5 separate regions of the Homo sapiens genome follow, and regions 1, 2, 4 and 5 are each linked to region 3. Evidence: promoter capture Hi-C in 16 types of primary human blood cells and fetal thymus (Javierre and others, 2016). All regions are on one chromosome and are shown on one strand. Each heading gives the region's core, a stretch centred on a gene start or on the middle of the fragment in contact. The rest is flanking DNA. Distances are from core to core; before and after follow the strand shown.

Region 1 (2,700 bases), core at 64-2,563, 370 kb after region 3:
CGAGGAGTCCGCATCCCGCGCTCCCAGCACCTGGGAAGAGTCTGGGCTTCGCTACGATAAAGCTTATCCCGGGGACAGGAGGCTGAGGTGATGTGGTTCTTGAGCCTGTCGAATGTTCTCGTTTCCCTTCCCGTCGCACAGCGGAACCTTAACCTCCTTCCGATGGAGGACTTCTTCCAGTACAGCCCGCTGGTTTTTGTATTATGCACAGAGGGCCGAATAAGCGTCTTTGGAATTAGCTTCTGTTTCTCCTTAGCTCTTTGTTGTTGTTTTTGTTTCACCATGTTAGCCAGGCTGATCTGGAACTCCTGACCTCAGGTGATCCGCCCGCCTCGGCCTCCCAATGTGCTGGGATTACAGGCGTGAGCCACCGCGCCCGGCCCTCTCCGTAGCTCTTTATTTCTGTTACAACTAAGCGTGTCTCAGTAACAAGGATGTTGATAGTTACCTGTTTTTTTTTTTTATTTCCATCTACAGCAGTGTAATGACAATAGTAAAGTCCAGGCCATTTCGGGAAAAACAAGGGAAGATCCTGCTGGAAGGTCGCAGGCTCATTTCAGACGCTCTCAAGGCTGGAGCTGTGCCAAAAATGTTCTTCTTTAGCCGTCTAGAATACCTAAAGGAGTTGCCAGTCGATAAGCTGAAAGGTGTCAGCCTCATTAAGGTGAAATTTGAGGATATCAAGGATTGGTCCGACCTCGTAACGCCACAAGGAATAATGGGTTAGTGATTACCCAGTGTATCTTTTTTTTTTTTTGTCTTGTTCTGTCACCCAGGCTGGAGTGCAATGGCGCGATCTCGGCCCACTGCAACCTCCGCCTCTCGGGTTCAAGGGATTCTCTTGCCTCAGCCTCCGCAGTAGCTGGGATTACAGGCGTCTGCCACCATGCCCGGGTGATTTTTGTATTTTTAGTAGAGGTGGGGTTTCACCATGTTGGCCAGGCTGACGTCGAACTTGTGACCTCAGGTGATCCTCCTGCCTCGGCCTCCCAAAGTGCTGGGATTACAGGCGTGAGCCACCATGCCTGGCCTTACACAGTGTATCTTAAGGTGTGGAGACCTAGGATTAATTTCTCATACTTGTCTTAGGACAGCAGCATTGAAATGAAATTCAAAATGTTACAATTAGAAAAATATAATTCTCAAACCTGTGTATCTTAGAGTATTTTCAATGGAAATTGAAACCCGTTTTTCACTATCATTTGTGTTGTGGCTCTTTATGGTCTCTAGGAAGAACCACTATTCCTCAAACCTTCTATTTTTTAGATTACTTCTTCAACTTTCTATGTCAGATTAAAAATTAAGAAAGCGTTTACTGAAAGATTGAGCCCTTCATTTTTGCAAAACCTCTGCCAATGTGGTGATAACTGTCAATAAACTGCTTATTCCAGAAGCAGATCTAAGAAGCGAGGTACAAGCCACAATTTACTGCCCCGTTTAGCCCAATAAACAGAGAACCTTGTCTTCTAGTCTGTTCCTTCATTTGGCTGAATCTGACTTAACCTTATGTAACTCCGATGTTGATTAGCAGTTACAAAGTCTTTGGTCTAAATATGAGAAGATAAGTTTTTCATACGTTTTTGACATGGGAGTTTTAAGATATGAAAACTGAATCCTTGAACTGCTGAGAGAGGAGATTCTGGGGAACCATCTCTTGTCTCTGTAACCCAGTGAGTCACAGGGATCTGTGCCTCTGCACTCAGAGCTCTTAGATCCTAGGATGGGGACTTGGATTACTAAAGTACCTAGAATTACTCATGCTAAGTAACCATATTCTCACTAGCTACAGCCCTCTAATCCACACGCCATGCTTCAGTGAAAGTGTTATTCATTTTTACCGTGCTTGTCACTTGGGGCAGGTGTGCTCACAGTGGCCAGCCCATCTTGAACTTGTGCTTGTCACTTGGGGCAGGTGTGCTCACAGTGGCCAGCCCATCTTGAACTTGTGCTTGTCACTTGGGGCAGGTGTGCTTACAGTGGCCAACCCATCTTGAACTTCATCATCATACCTGCTTTCATCATTTCCTGGCTTATCCTTATGTTACTATATTTTAGATTTGAGGGCAGGGAATAAGGGAGAAATGGATAGGAACTGGCAGCACCTGTCAGGCTTTAGACAGACACTCCCCAGAATCCAGCGACATAAGTAGGGCCTCCGTATAGTGGGTTCTCATCACCACAGACATCCAAGTAGAAGTAAAGGACTTCTAAGGTCCTCAGCCCTACTGAATGGCTTTTGGCCATCTGTGACTCCGAAGTGGAGGCTCTCTCACAGCACACAGACGCCTAATACCCTTCCATTGCCTTCAGTGGTGGATAGGCTTTTTACCTGCACCATCTTTTAGAAAGAATCCTAAATCTTTGATTGTATCATGTTTCAGTACAAGTACTATTTCATTCATCTCCTGACTTCAGTCAGTAGCCCATTTATTGTAGCAATCATATACGACAAAATACTAGTAAGATTCAAAAAAACTGTACAGTCCCTTGGGAGCAGACTACAAAGGGATTGAATATTTGATAATTATACATAAAGAGTTTAGGGTAGTGCTTGGCTTAAAAAAAAAAGCTTACTAAAAGGTTATCATTATCACCTCTACCAGTAAACATGGTGATTCAAAAAGAAACTTGTGGATATGTGATACACCCATGTGAATAACTTCATCTATACCACAGCAATTTCATGTACTCAAAGCCATT
Region 2 (2,708 bases), core at 38-2,537, 330 kb after region 3:
TAGCCCTCGTTGGAATTTTCCTTCTGGTGGTTTCTTAACCTCCACTTACTTCCCCTTTTCGTTTCGTCATCCGCAGAGGCTCCGGGGAGACCTTGGGGACTTCTTTGTCGGCTGCATCTTCACGGCAGAACTGAGCACTCCGTTTGTGTCGCTGGGCAGGGTTCTGATTCAGGCATGTATGAATGAAATGACAGAGAGTGTGAGGGTTCTGATTCAGGCATGTATGAATGAAATGACAGAGAGAGTGAGGGTTCTGATTCAGGCATGTATGAATGAATGGCAGAGAGAGTGAAGGTTCTGATTCAGGCATGTATGAATGAATGGCAGAGAGAGTGAGGGTTCTGATTCAGGCATGCATGAATGAAATGGCAGAAAGAGTGTGGGAGGGAGTGGATTCTGCTTTTCCTTCGGAGATGGTGGGTGTGGAGAAATCCCTAGTGCCAGGAGAGTGGGATGAGAGATCCTTCAACAGCCTTAAAGGTCAGCTGGTCATCTCAGCCAGTGGGGGTGAAATTGTAGGTTTGATCTAAGTTTGATAGTTTGATACAGCTCATTCTATTTTTTCCCTGGTTACACACATACTTTAATCCACGGTTCCTGTACTCCTGTCAGCTGGGTGGCCTGGGTCAAATTCAAAATCACTATTGGAGAAAATGAGGTTATTTGCACATCTCAATATGATAGTGTTCAAGAATGTCTTCTCCAAGTGTTAGAAAACTAGACAAACGTCTGGGCGCCAGGGAATCTGACAGCCAAGGTCTTGATGAGCACCTGCACCTGTGTGGCATTTACTGTGGTGGGACTTGGGCCCGTCGCTCCCTGATGCCCAGCTTCTTGGTGACCTTACCTTTTTCCTTCCTCTTCTATTGCAGCTAAAGCAGCAGCACACCCTTCTGTACAAGGTGAATGGAATCCTCACGCTGGCCACCTTCCTTTCCTGCCGGATCCTTCTCTTCCCCTTCATGTACTGGTCCTATGGCCGCCAGCAGGGACTAAGCCTGCTCCAAGTACCCTTCAGCATCCCATTCTACTGCAACGTGGCCAATGCCTTCCTCGTAGCTCCTCAGATCTACTGGTTCTGTCTGCTGTGCAGGAAGGCAGTCCGGCTCTTTGACACTCCCCAAGCCAAAAAGGATGGCTAAATGCTCCTGGGAGTCAGGCGCAGCCTCACACCAGCTGCCTCCTCCACTCAGCATTCCATGGACCAAATTGTGCCCTGGGTAGCCTCAGACTTTGGGTATTGATAAGCCGATGGATTTGAGTTTTTCTAAAGAATATTCATATTACCTCCTTCTTCTAACTTGCCCTATTTGCAAAAGCACTTTTGTAGTAACAACTATTGGGTCCTGTCAGACCTCCACGGACAGCAAAGTGGTTTTAATGCAAGCCCAAGGATCCTTCTTAAGGTCTTATCTCAAGAGCTCTGGGAGGTGGAAGCATGGGGTGGGATCGGTGGACCAGGGTGGTAAGTGTCTGCACATCTGCCTGTCCCTGTATCAGCGGCTACCCACCTTCCAAACCACTCAGGACAGTACCCGTGGCACTGGGCCCGCAGAAGCAAGGGATGACTTGGTTCTTGGAAGTAATGTCGTCTTGTGACATTGGCCTGGGACAATCATTGTGGGTAGGTAGTTATTGATCGTTTACTAGATAACCCATTGGTTCTTTGCCTCATCCTCTCATCCATGGGTCAGAGTTGAATTCTTATGTCTATAGACTTCCAATCAGAAGTCTCACTGGTGGGGCTGGGGGTGGGGGCAGGCAGGAGGCATGGATGGGAACCTGAGTAGGTAGTGTGGCCAAGAGATCAGCACAACCTTTGCAGGCTGACTTGCTAAGTCTGACAGTGACAAACTTGTGAGCTTACTGCAGTCAGTCACAGAGGCTGTTCTTTTTCACACACCCCTTCATGCCCGGCTTTCCCCATATCCACATGCAGAGGGCGAGCTCATAAAACTACAGGGAAGCGTGAAATGATGGCTTTGGTAGCTGTTTACTGGGTAACCCCACTGTGACACTGTCCTTTTCATGTGATGTGGAAACCTACTTCTGTCCTCCAAACCATGAAATGTGTCATCTAGACTGCAGAGTACTTGAGTGCTTTGCCTCCCGATATGCCAGAGCTTGTGGTCCAAAGCCCATTCCTGTGTGTCCGTCCTGCCATTTAGCCACAGAAGGCTGCGGAGTGAGGCGGCAGCTAGCCTGGCCAGTGGCTGTCCCGTGGACCGACACCTGCGCCCCCTTCTGCAAGCAGGATTTTCTGGTGCCAACACTCATTCATCATTCCCGATCAACTAGGATGAATTTAAGACTGTGCTACCATGTGTTCTCAAGTGGTAGTTTAAAAAGTGGATTTTTAAAGTGCCTTTCAATTGTCTGTGAACGTCTAAAGGACTGATTTGTCTCATTTTGACTGTTGAGTCTTTAATGGGTGCCATTTAAAAAACAAAATGCTATTTTTTAATTGTCTTTTTTTTTTAACTATCAGTGTATCTTTAAAAGTCACCCTTACGGTGATTAAATTGCACTAACATTCCCAACTTATTCTCATTTGTGAAATACATCAATATCAGTGTCCTGTAAGAATCATCCTGTGACCTAGCTCGACTGGCTGCCGTGTGCTGTGGCTCAAGGTCTGTGTCCATGTAACTAGCAGAGGGGTGTGTGTGTGAATGCTTTCAGCCTCCAGAAAGGTCTAGCTCACACCT
Region 3 (2,700 bases), core at 174-2,673:
CTACTAGGGAGGCTGAGGCAGAAGAATCACTTGAACCTGAGAGGCAGAGGTTGCAGTGAGTCACGTTCACGCCACTGCATTCCAGCCTGGGCAACAGAGGAAGGCTCTGTCTCCCAAAAAAAAAAAAAGAGAGAGAAAGTCTTGCTTTGTTACCCAGGCTGGACAGCAGTGGTGCGATCTCGGCTCACTGCAGGCTCAAGTTCCTCCACAAGTGCCCCTCAGCGCAGCTGGTTAATTTTTTGTAGAGATGGGGTCTCACTACGTTGCCCAGAATGGGCTCAAGCGATCCACCCACCTTGACCTCCCAAAGTGTTGGGACTACGGGTGTCAGCCCTGCACAGAGCCCCACAAGAGTTTAGATCTTGATGTAAATTGTGATGAGGAAGCAATGGAGGACTTTTTGGCTTTTTATGTTTTGTTTTTCATCACTGGAGACTTTTAGCAAGAGAGTGAACGGTTTGGTTGTTTTTAAAAGTTTGTTCTAGCAGCTGTGCGGAAAAAGAGTTCGTGGGGAAGGTTTGAAAGCAGAGACCATTCAGGAGAGGACCCAGAAGTCCCAGTGCCAGACACGGCAGTCGGCCCCAGCCTGGGTAAGGGACAAGGGAGAGGGTAGGGGACACGGAAGCCCACCAGGTTTCCAGCCAGTCCAGCGGTTTTGTTCACTAAAGTGGAAAACCATGAAGAAGTAAGTTTGTTTTGGACACATTGGCTTTGAGAGTCCAGGGTAGATGTACGAGGCTGAAACTCAGGCAATAAAAATTGAGGGGAGAATACACAGCATTTAAAAAGGTACAGGAGGCCGAGCACGGAGGCTCATGCCTGTGATCCCAGCGATCTAGGAGGCCGAGGCGGGAAGATCGATGGAGCCCAGGAGTTCGAGACCAGCCTGAAACCAAAAATCAAAACTCTTAGCCAGGCGTGGGGATGGGAGGCCAAGGCAGGAGGATCGAGGCACGGGACTGGACGAGATGAGTGTCAGCCCAGGGATTTAAAATCTCTCTGCCCACCCTCCCCTTCCTGCGGTCAACTGTCCAGATTCCAACAGACAAAAGCAAGCATGGGCGAACCACCGTGCGCCGCGGTCCCCGACAGAAGCACGCATGCGCACACCTCTGTGTGCGGAGGTTTCCGACAGACGCACGCATGCGCACACTTCTATGCGCGGAGGTCTCCGCAGACAGAAGCACGCATGCGCACATCGCTGTGCCGGTATCGCCAACAGATGGAAGCACGCATGCGCGCACCGCTGCGTACCTAGCACTCCGACAGATGTACGCATGCGCACAACGCTCTGTTCTCGAGATCCCCGACAGAAGCACACATGCGCACACCGCTGTGTGCCAAGGTCGCCAAAAGACGGAAGCACGCATGCGCACACCGCGGTCCGTGGGGCACCGGGCGGAAGCGTCCTGACTGCGCAGGCGCAGCAGGGGTGGTCGCCATGGAGACGCGTGGCCCTGGCCTGGCGGTCCGCGCTGAGAGTCGCCGATTAGTCGGCATCGGGCCTCGGGCGCCCCCGGGGCGGGTTGGGTTGCAGCCCAGCGGGCGGCTGGACCGCCGCGGTGGGGCGGGGACAATGGGGTACAAGGACAACGACGGCGAGGAGGAGGAGCGGGAGGGCGGCGCCGCGGGCCCGCGGGGGTCTAGACTGCCCCCCATCACAGGCGGCGCCTCCGAGCTGGCCAAACGGAAGGTGAAGAAGAAAAAAAGGAAGAAGAAGACCAAGGGGTCTGGCAAGGGGGACGGTAAGAGGAGCAGCTAGCCCGGCTGCGTCAGCTCCGGTTCCCTGGAGACTCTTTGGGGACCCACCCCCCATTTACCCTTCAGACCGGAAACAGAAGCTCAGTGGTCCCGGACCGAGGTCCTCCTGCTCCCCACACATGCCCGTCAGCAGCACGTTGATGCCCCAGCCCCACCCGTGGAGACCATCCACCAACTCTGCGGTCCCTTAGCCCCACACAGAGACCCCTACAGATATCCACCATTCCTAAGAGCCTTCCAGCCCCACACAAAGACACCCTCTCAACTTCCTAATCCCTCAGCCAAAACTGGCAGTCTTAAACGTCTGCGCCTTCCCCACAGAGGCCCTCCTCACAAGACACTTTCCCCACCCCAAACACATTGATGCCACATGAAAGGCCCTCACTCTCATGCACAGAGAAGGGCAGACTCCTGCCTCCCCTCCTCCCACCCTCTTGCGTTAAGGCTGCCTGCCTGTGGATGCGCGGTAGACACCCACACCCACAGACGTGTGTATTAAAGGTCCTCGCTGCATGGGCTCCCCCTCGCACCCACCAAGGGGCAGCCTTGGACTGCACAAACCCCATGACACCAGTCACTGTGACATCCTCCTATAATCCCTGACACCCTCAACCACTCCCCGCTTCATATCAGTGTAACACCCACAGTGAAACTAAAGGGCGGGGGACACCCTCAACCACTCCCCCCACCTTCTATCAATGTAACACCAACAGTGAAACTAAAGGGCGGGACGCAGTGGCTCACACCTGTAATCCGAGCACTTTGGGAGGCCGAGGTGGGAGGATCACTTGAACCCAGGACTTCCAGGCTGCAGTGAGCTATGATCGCACCATTGCACTCCAGCCTGGGCAACAAGCAAGACCCTGTCTCTCAAAAAAACAAACAAGAAAACTAAAGCACAGATCCCCCTCATGCACACACATTCCTAGTCTACACACA
Region 4 (2,700 bases), core at 96-2,595, 260 kb before region 3:
CAGCTTTCTACCATCACCAAAAATTGCAAACAACCACACGCCCTTCAACTGGGGAACTCATCAACAACAAACTTGTGGTTTACCCACACAATGGAAGACCACTTAGCAACAAAAAGGACCAAACTCCTGGTACATGCAACTGACAGATGAATCTCAAACGCATTCCTCCGTGTGAAAGAAGCCGGACTCACAGGGCAACACACTATCTGACTGTTTCATGGGAAAGTCTGGAAACGGCAACACCATTGAGACAGAAAACAGGTGAGTGGTTGCCTGGGGCCAGGGAACTTTCTGGGGTCATATTCTCTGTGTTGATTCTGGTGGTGGAAACAAGACTGTCCCAGCCTGGGTGATACAGCGAGACCCCATCTCTACCAAAAAATTAAAAATTAGCTGGGCATGGTGGTGCATGCCTGTAGTCCCAGCTATTCACAGTGCTGAGGTGGGAAGATGCTTGAGCCCAGGAGTTCAAGGCTGCAATGAGCTATGATTGCGCCACTGCACTTTGGCCTGGACAACAGAGCAAAACCCTGTCTCTAAAAAAAGAAAAGAAAAGAAAAACTCACTGGATATGAATGATACAGGTTGAGGATCCATTATCTGAAATGCTTGGACCAGATGTTTTGAATTTTGGATTTTTTCATATTTTGTAATCTTTGCAGTATATTTACCAGTTCAGCATCCCTAACTCAAAAATTCAAAAATCTGAAATCCCAAACGCGCCAATAAGCATTCCCTTTGAGCGTCATGTCGGTGCTTGGAATGTTTGGGGTTTTGGATTTACAGCTTTGGGACGCTCAACCTGTACCTCAATAAACCTGATTTTAAAAAAGTTTGGGGGGATTCCCCTAAGCCCGCCACCCGGAGACAGCGGATTTCCTTAGTTACTTACTATGCTCCTTGGCCATTTCTCTAGGTATTGGTATATTGTGTCTGCTGTGAACTGTCCTTGGCCTGTTTGGTGACGGGTGAGGAGCAGGGACAGAAGGGTCCTGCGTGCCCTGCCTTCACAAGCCCCTGGAAGGAAAGTTGTTTTGGGATCTCTGCACCCTCAGCCTGGACAACTTGTGCCCATCTGGTGACCCCTCACTCAGCCACCAGACTTCCACGACAGGCTCCAGCCTCGGCACCTTCAGCCATGGACAGTTCCGCCAGCGTTGCCCTCTGTTCTGCTGTTTTCTCTACCAGAAGTGCCCTTCCCTCCTCACCTGACCACTCTGGGGAAATCCCTCAGCACCCTCCCTGAGCATACCCTACTCTGGCACAAGCCCACCCTGCAAAGCCCCTGAGGCCCGCCCTGTGGCGTCTCTCCCTCCCTTGCTGTCAGGACAGTGGTCCTGGCCACCGGGGCTCACGGAGCCGCCCTGTGCCGTGTACCTCTGAGCCCTCTGCACAGTGCCTTCTGCTTGCCTGTGGCTTTGAGAAGAAACCCCTTCTGGTTATACATAAGACAGCCAGAGAAGGGAGTTGCCCAGGGTGGCACAGCACGTTGCTGCCAGTTACTGCCATTTTCACGGGCATGAAATGGAGATAACAACAGGAGCGACCGCACAGGCTGCTGAGCGCGTCACACGCAGCCATCGCGCAGCTCAGGGATATTACGTGTAACTCGACATGTCAGCGATTGTCACAGGCACTGCTACTCCTGGGGTTTTCCATCAAACCCTCAAGAGCTGGGCCTGGGGTCAACTTCCGGCCTGGGGAAACTGGGGCAAGTATCACCAGAGATGAGCTTTATAAAAATAATGGTGCTAGCTGGGCATGGTGGCTTGCACCTGTAATCCCAGCACTTTGGGAGGCCGAGCTAGGAGGATCGTTTGAGTCCAGCAGTTTGAGACCAGCCTGGCCAATACGGCAAAACCCAGTCTCTACAAAAAATACAAAAAACAACTAGCCAGGCGTGGTGGTGCACACCTGTAGTCCCAGCTACTCAGGAGGCTGAGGGGGAAGGACTGCTTGAGCCCAGGAGTTTGAGGCTGCTGTGAGCTGTGATCGCATCACTGCATTCCAGCCCGGTGACAGAGTGAGTCACTGTCTCAAAAAAGAAAGGAAGAAATAAAGAAAACAAATAAAAATAATAGTGCAGACAAAAGGCCTTGACCCATCTAGCTTTGGCCCTCAGCATCAACCGCTAGATACGTCCCTCCCTTTCTTCTGGGGCACAGGTCACACTCTCTTCCAGGTCTAGGATGCAGCTGAGGGGTGCCCCTCTTACCATCTAATCTGTGCCCTTATTTCCTCTGCTTTAGTGAGGAAGAGGCCCCTGGTCCATGAAGGGGCCTTTCAGAGACGGGGACCCCTGAGGAGCCCCGAGCAGCAGCCGTCGTGTCTCACCCAGGGTGTCTGAAACAGATGTGGAGGTCTCGGGTGAGGCGTGGCTCAGATACAGGGAGTGGCCCACAGCTCGGCCTGTCTTTGAAAGGCCACGTGACCTGGCCCACGGCTGGCAGGTGGGACCCAGCTGCAGGGGTCCAGCAGCACCCACAGCAGCCACCTGTGGCAGGGAGGAGCTTGTGGTACAGTGGACAGGCCCTGCCCAGATGGCCCCCCGCCTGCCTGTGGAAGTTGACCAGACCATCTGTCACAGCAGGTAAGACTCTGCTTTCTGGGCAACCCAGCAGGTGACCCTGGAATTCCTGTCCATCTGGCAGGTGGGCATTGAAACTGGTTTAAAAATGTCACACCATAGGCCGGGCACAG
Region 5 (2,700 bases), core at 194-2,693, 350 kb after region 3:
TGTGTTCTTTGGGAACCAGGATCCTCTGAGTCAATCCCTTCCAATCTCCTAAGTTTATTTTTAAAAATCTGAACCTGGCCACCACTTTACATGATGAGACTTAGAGACTGGTATCACAGCTTGATTTCAGAAGCTTACTTTCAAAAAAAATTTATTCAATGAATACACAATATAATTCCATTTCGAGTGATTAAAACCTATTTGTTGTTTAGAACCAAACAAAACTACAAGAAAACATTTTCAAAACCTTTTTTTTCAGGCTGAAGAAATCGTTTAATCCATTTTAAAGAAATCTCACATGATGTTCTGTCGGGATTAAAAATATACACGGAAAAAAATAAAACAAAATATATACACAGAAAGAAGCTCGCACAGAGTCAGGCGTGCAGCAACGTCACACACTCATTCCTTTCTGTTTCCTCTGGACACTCAAAATGTGAAAGCAAGTAAGAGGGGGGTGGTTAACCAAACCTTTTGGTCCAAGGAATAAAATTTCTTTAAAAAATTTAAAACGTCAAAACCTGCCAGAATAAGACAATAGAAGAGCGTATCGTCAGGCGCTGGGAATGGCACCACGACAAGGCATTAATGTGGATTCACTTGCACAGCTGCTCTCATAAAAGCTACACGATTCAGAGGTAACCCTAACTATCCGCAATCCCAACCAAAGTCATGTTCATGCCGCTGTCCTAGTCTGGACAATCATCTGTCACTCATCCAACACAGTTATATACAGAATGCGCAGTCCCAGCAACAGTGTAGATTACAGCAGGCGTTCTCTACCTGGACTCATGATTGGATTTCATTTCTAAATTACATCAGAGCTTTCAAAGATTGAAATACACAAATCTGCACTACCCAAGCCTCCTTGCCTGTACGGGAAACAAATCAGAAGAGCATTTATTGGGAACTGACACGTCAGGCCTCACAGGTGCTGGGCAGGAATCACAGAGGCTTGCTCTGCATCATGTCTTCCGTTAACCTGAAGCTTTGGGTTTATTGTGTTTGGCAAACCACTCGTCACTTTTATCTGCTGCCATTGCCTGTAAAATAGAAATAGAATATACACTGACTCCAAGCCTGAAAAACAAAAGACATAGCCCACTTTATATCTCACTGTACTGACCACAATAAAAAAAATTAACATTAAAAAAAGGACCCAAACCCCCGCTCCAAAAAAAAGAGAAGAGAAATAAAAAAAATTTTTTAACATTTAAAGAGTATTAATCCAGTACAGAGTGTTATGTTCAATAAGGCAAGAGATACTGGTGATAATGAGCAACTGTGGATCCTCACTCGGCAGAGTCAAGGGCAAACCAAGCCTGTAGCCAGGAAGTGTGGCTGGCGGACCAACGAGGTCAGGGACCCGCATGCCAGGCGGTAGGATCTCTGGTAAAAGAGCAAGTCCTGCCACTCACAGCATCTGGGCAGACGCTCAAGAATCTTTAGTGTCATGAAACTCAGTCTGATAGTGAGGCCAAATATGAAACTCTACGTGATGTTTTAGTGATGAAGCCTGGAATGATTCCTTTTTCGTAAGTCTCCTCCCGGCCTACTCTTCTGATGTTGGTTCTGTTTAGTTTGGGCATCTTAATTAAAAAGGAAGCCTTAAGCCGTGCCCAGTGGTCACACCTATAGTCACAGCCACTTGGAGGCTGAGGCCAGAGGATCACGTGAGCTCAGGAATTCGAGTTCAGCCTGTGTAACAGAGTGGGACCCCGTCTCATATACATACATACAGATACAAATAAAAATAAATGAATAATACAAAGCCTTAACAATAATGTTTTGGTTCCACAAGCATCCCTTTCGTTGTTTAGTAAGGACAAACACTCATTTATGTAGTCAAAAAGAGCCAGGTACCACGCTGGGTTCAGATGTGGCAGCAGAGACAGTCGGAAGCTTTGAGGAGTGTGCAGAACAGCTGAGAACTCAGATATGGAAACAAGTATTTTGCATGACAGAGTGTGTGTACGCATGTGTGTGTCTTGAAGCATTTGCTATAATATCTACCTCAGCAGGAAGTCACAAGATGAGGTGGCAATTGAAAAAGAAGAAACAAATATATTTATTATTTAGAAACAGTGAAGGTGAAAGTGGCTGTCCTAGGTAGTGTGACTCAGAGTTGGACCGTTTCATTTCTAAAAAATCTTAGTACTATCTGATTTATTATCTTGATGAAAATAAGAATTTAAAAATCAAAGATATGCTTAAAAAAACCACAAGTCACAAATATGCACGTTTCTGTCTTTTAGGAGCCATAAAAAGTGGGAGGAAAGAACAACTAAATTATTTGGAGAACCTAAGAAAGCTTTTTTTCTTTTTTGAAATGGAGTTTTGCTCTTGTCGCCCAGGCTGGAGTGCAACGGCGCCATCTCGGCTCACTGCAACCTCTGCCTTCTGGGTTCAAGTGATTCTCCTGCCTCAGCCTCCCAAGTAGCTGGGATTACAGGCGTACACCACCGTGCCTGGCTAATTTTTTGTGTTTAGTAGAGACAGGGTTTCACCATGTTGGTCAGGCTGGTCTGGGACTCCTGACCTCAGGTGAGCCACCCGCCTTGGTCCCCCAAGGTGCTGGGATTACAGGGGTGAGCCATCGCGCCCGGCTGAACCTAAGAAAGCTTTTAAGTGTTGAAGGACAAGTAAAAGAGGAGAGGGAAAAAACCCTTTGGGTTGGATGCAAGAAGAAGTATCTTAGCT

What was found. Contacts are between HindIII fragments. The CHiCAGO score rates a contact against its expected background, and 5 or more counts as called.
Region 1: a contact is called between a fragment that was not itself captured here and the fragment with the promoter of LIAT1 in region 3, in 16 of 17 cell types (fetal thymus, activated CD4 T cells, total CD8 T cells and 13 more). The highest score is 11.2, in fetal thymus.
Region 2: a fragment that was not itself captured here is called in contact with the fragment with the promoter of LIAT1 in region 3 in 7 of 17 cell types (M0 macrophages, fetal thymus, monocytes and 4 more); the score reaches 6.7 in M0 macrophages.
Region 4: a contact is called between a fragment that was not itself captured here and the fragment with the promoter of LIAT1 in region 3, in 3 of 17 cell types (M2 macrophages, M0 macrophages and endothelial precursors). The highest score is 7.9, in M2 macrophages.
Region 5: a contact is called between a fragment that was not itself captured here and the fragment with the promoter of LIAT1 in region 3, in 1 of 17 cell types (M0 macrophages). The highest score is 6.1, in M0 macrophages.

Annotation. Positions count from the first base shown.
Region 1 is chr17:782,606-785,305 of GRCh38, forward strand. MRM3 (mitochondrial rRNA methyltransferase 3) reads left to right here. Exons shown (of 4, transcript NM_018146.4): 1 at 1-87; 2 at 478-722. It also overlaps a transcript of GLOD4 not described here. Among named protein-coding and RNA genes, the nearest start is that of MRM3, 1.6 kb to the left of the region's middle. RefSeq lists enhancers at 1-55, 1-275. The HindIII fragment of the contact is 2,507 bases long and covers 61-2,567 here.
Region 2 is chr17:740,429-743,136 of GRCh38, forward strand. TLCD3A (TLC domain containing 3A) reads left to right here. Exons shown (of 5, transcript NM_024792.3): 4 at 77-172; 5 at 873-2,540. The coding sequence ends at 1,142. Among named protein-coding and RNA genes, the nearest start is that of TLCD3A, 9.2 kb to the left of the region's middle. The HindIII fragment of the contact is 7,880 bases long and covers 1-2,708 here.
Region 3 is chr17:408,902-411,601 of GRCh38, forward strand. It overlaps LIAT1 (ligand of ATE1), which reads left to right and starts at 1,424. Exons shown (of 2, transcript NM_001013672.5): 1 at 1,424-1,745. The coding sequence starts at 1,442. All of the region lies in intron 2 of LOC105371430 (a long non-coding RNA gene), which reads right to left. RefSeq lists a silencer at 1,476-1,565. The HindIII fragment of the contact is 6,027 bases long and covers 1-2,700 here.
Region 4 is chr17:150,733-153,432 of GRCh38, forward strand. All of the region lies in intron 6 of DOC2B (double C2 domain beta), which reads right to left. Among named protein-coding and RNA genes, the nearest start is that of SCGB1C2, 15 kb to the left of the region's middle. The HindIII fragment of the contact is 3,739 bases long and covers 1-2,700 here.
Region 5 is chr17:759,196-761,895 of GRCh38, forward strand. GLOD4 (glyoxalase domain containing 4) reads right to left here. Exons shown (of 9, transcript NM_016080.4): 9 at 135-1,043. The coding sequence ends at 978. Among named protein-coding and RNA genes, the nearest start is that of GEMIN4, 8.3 kb to the left of the region's middle. The HindIII fragment of the contact is 914 bases long and covers 987-1,900 here.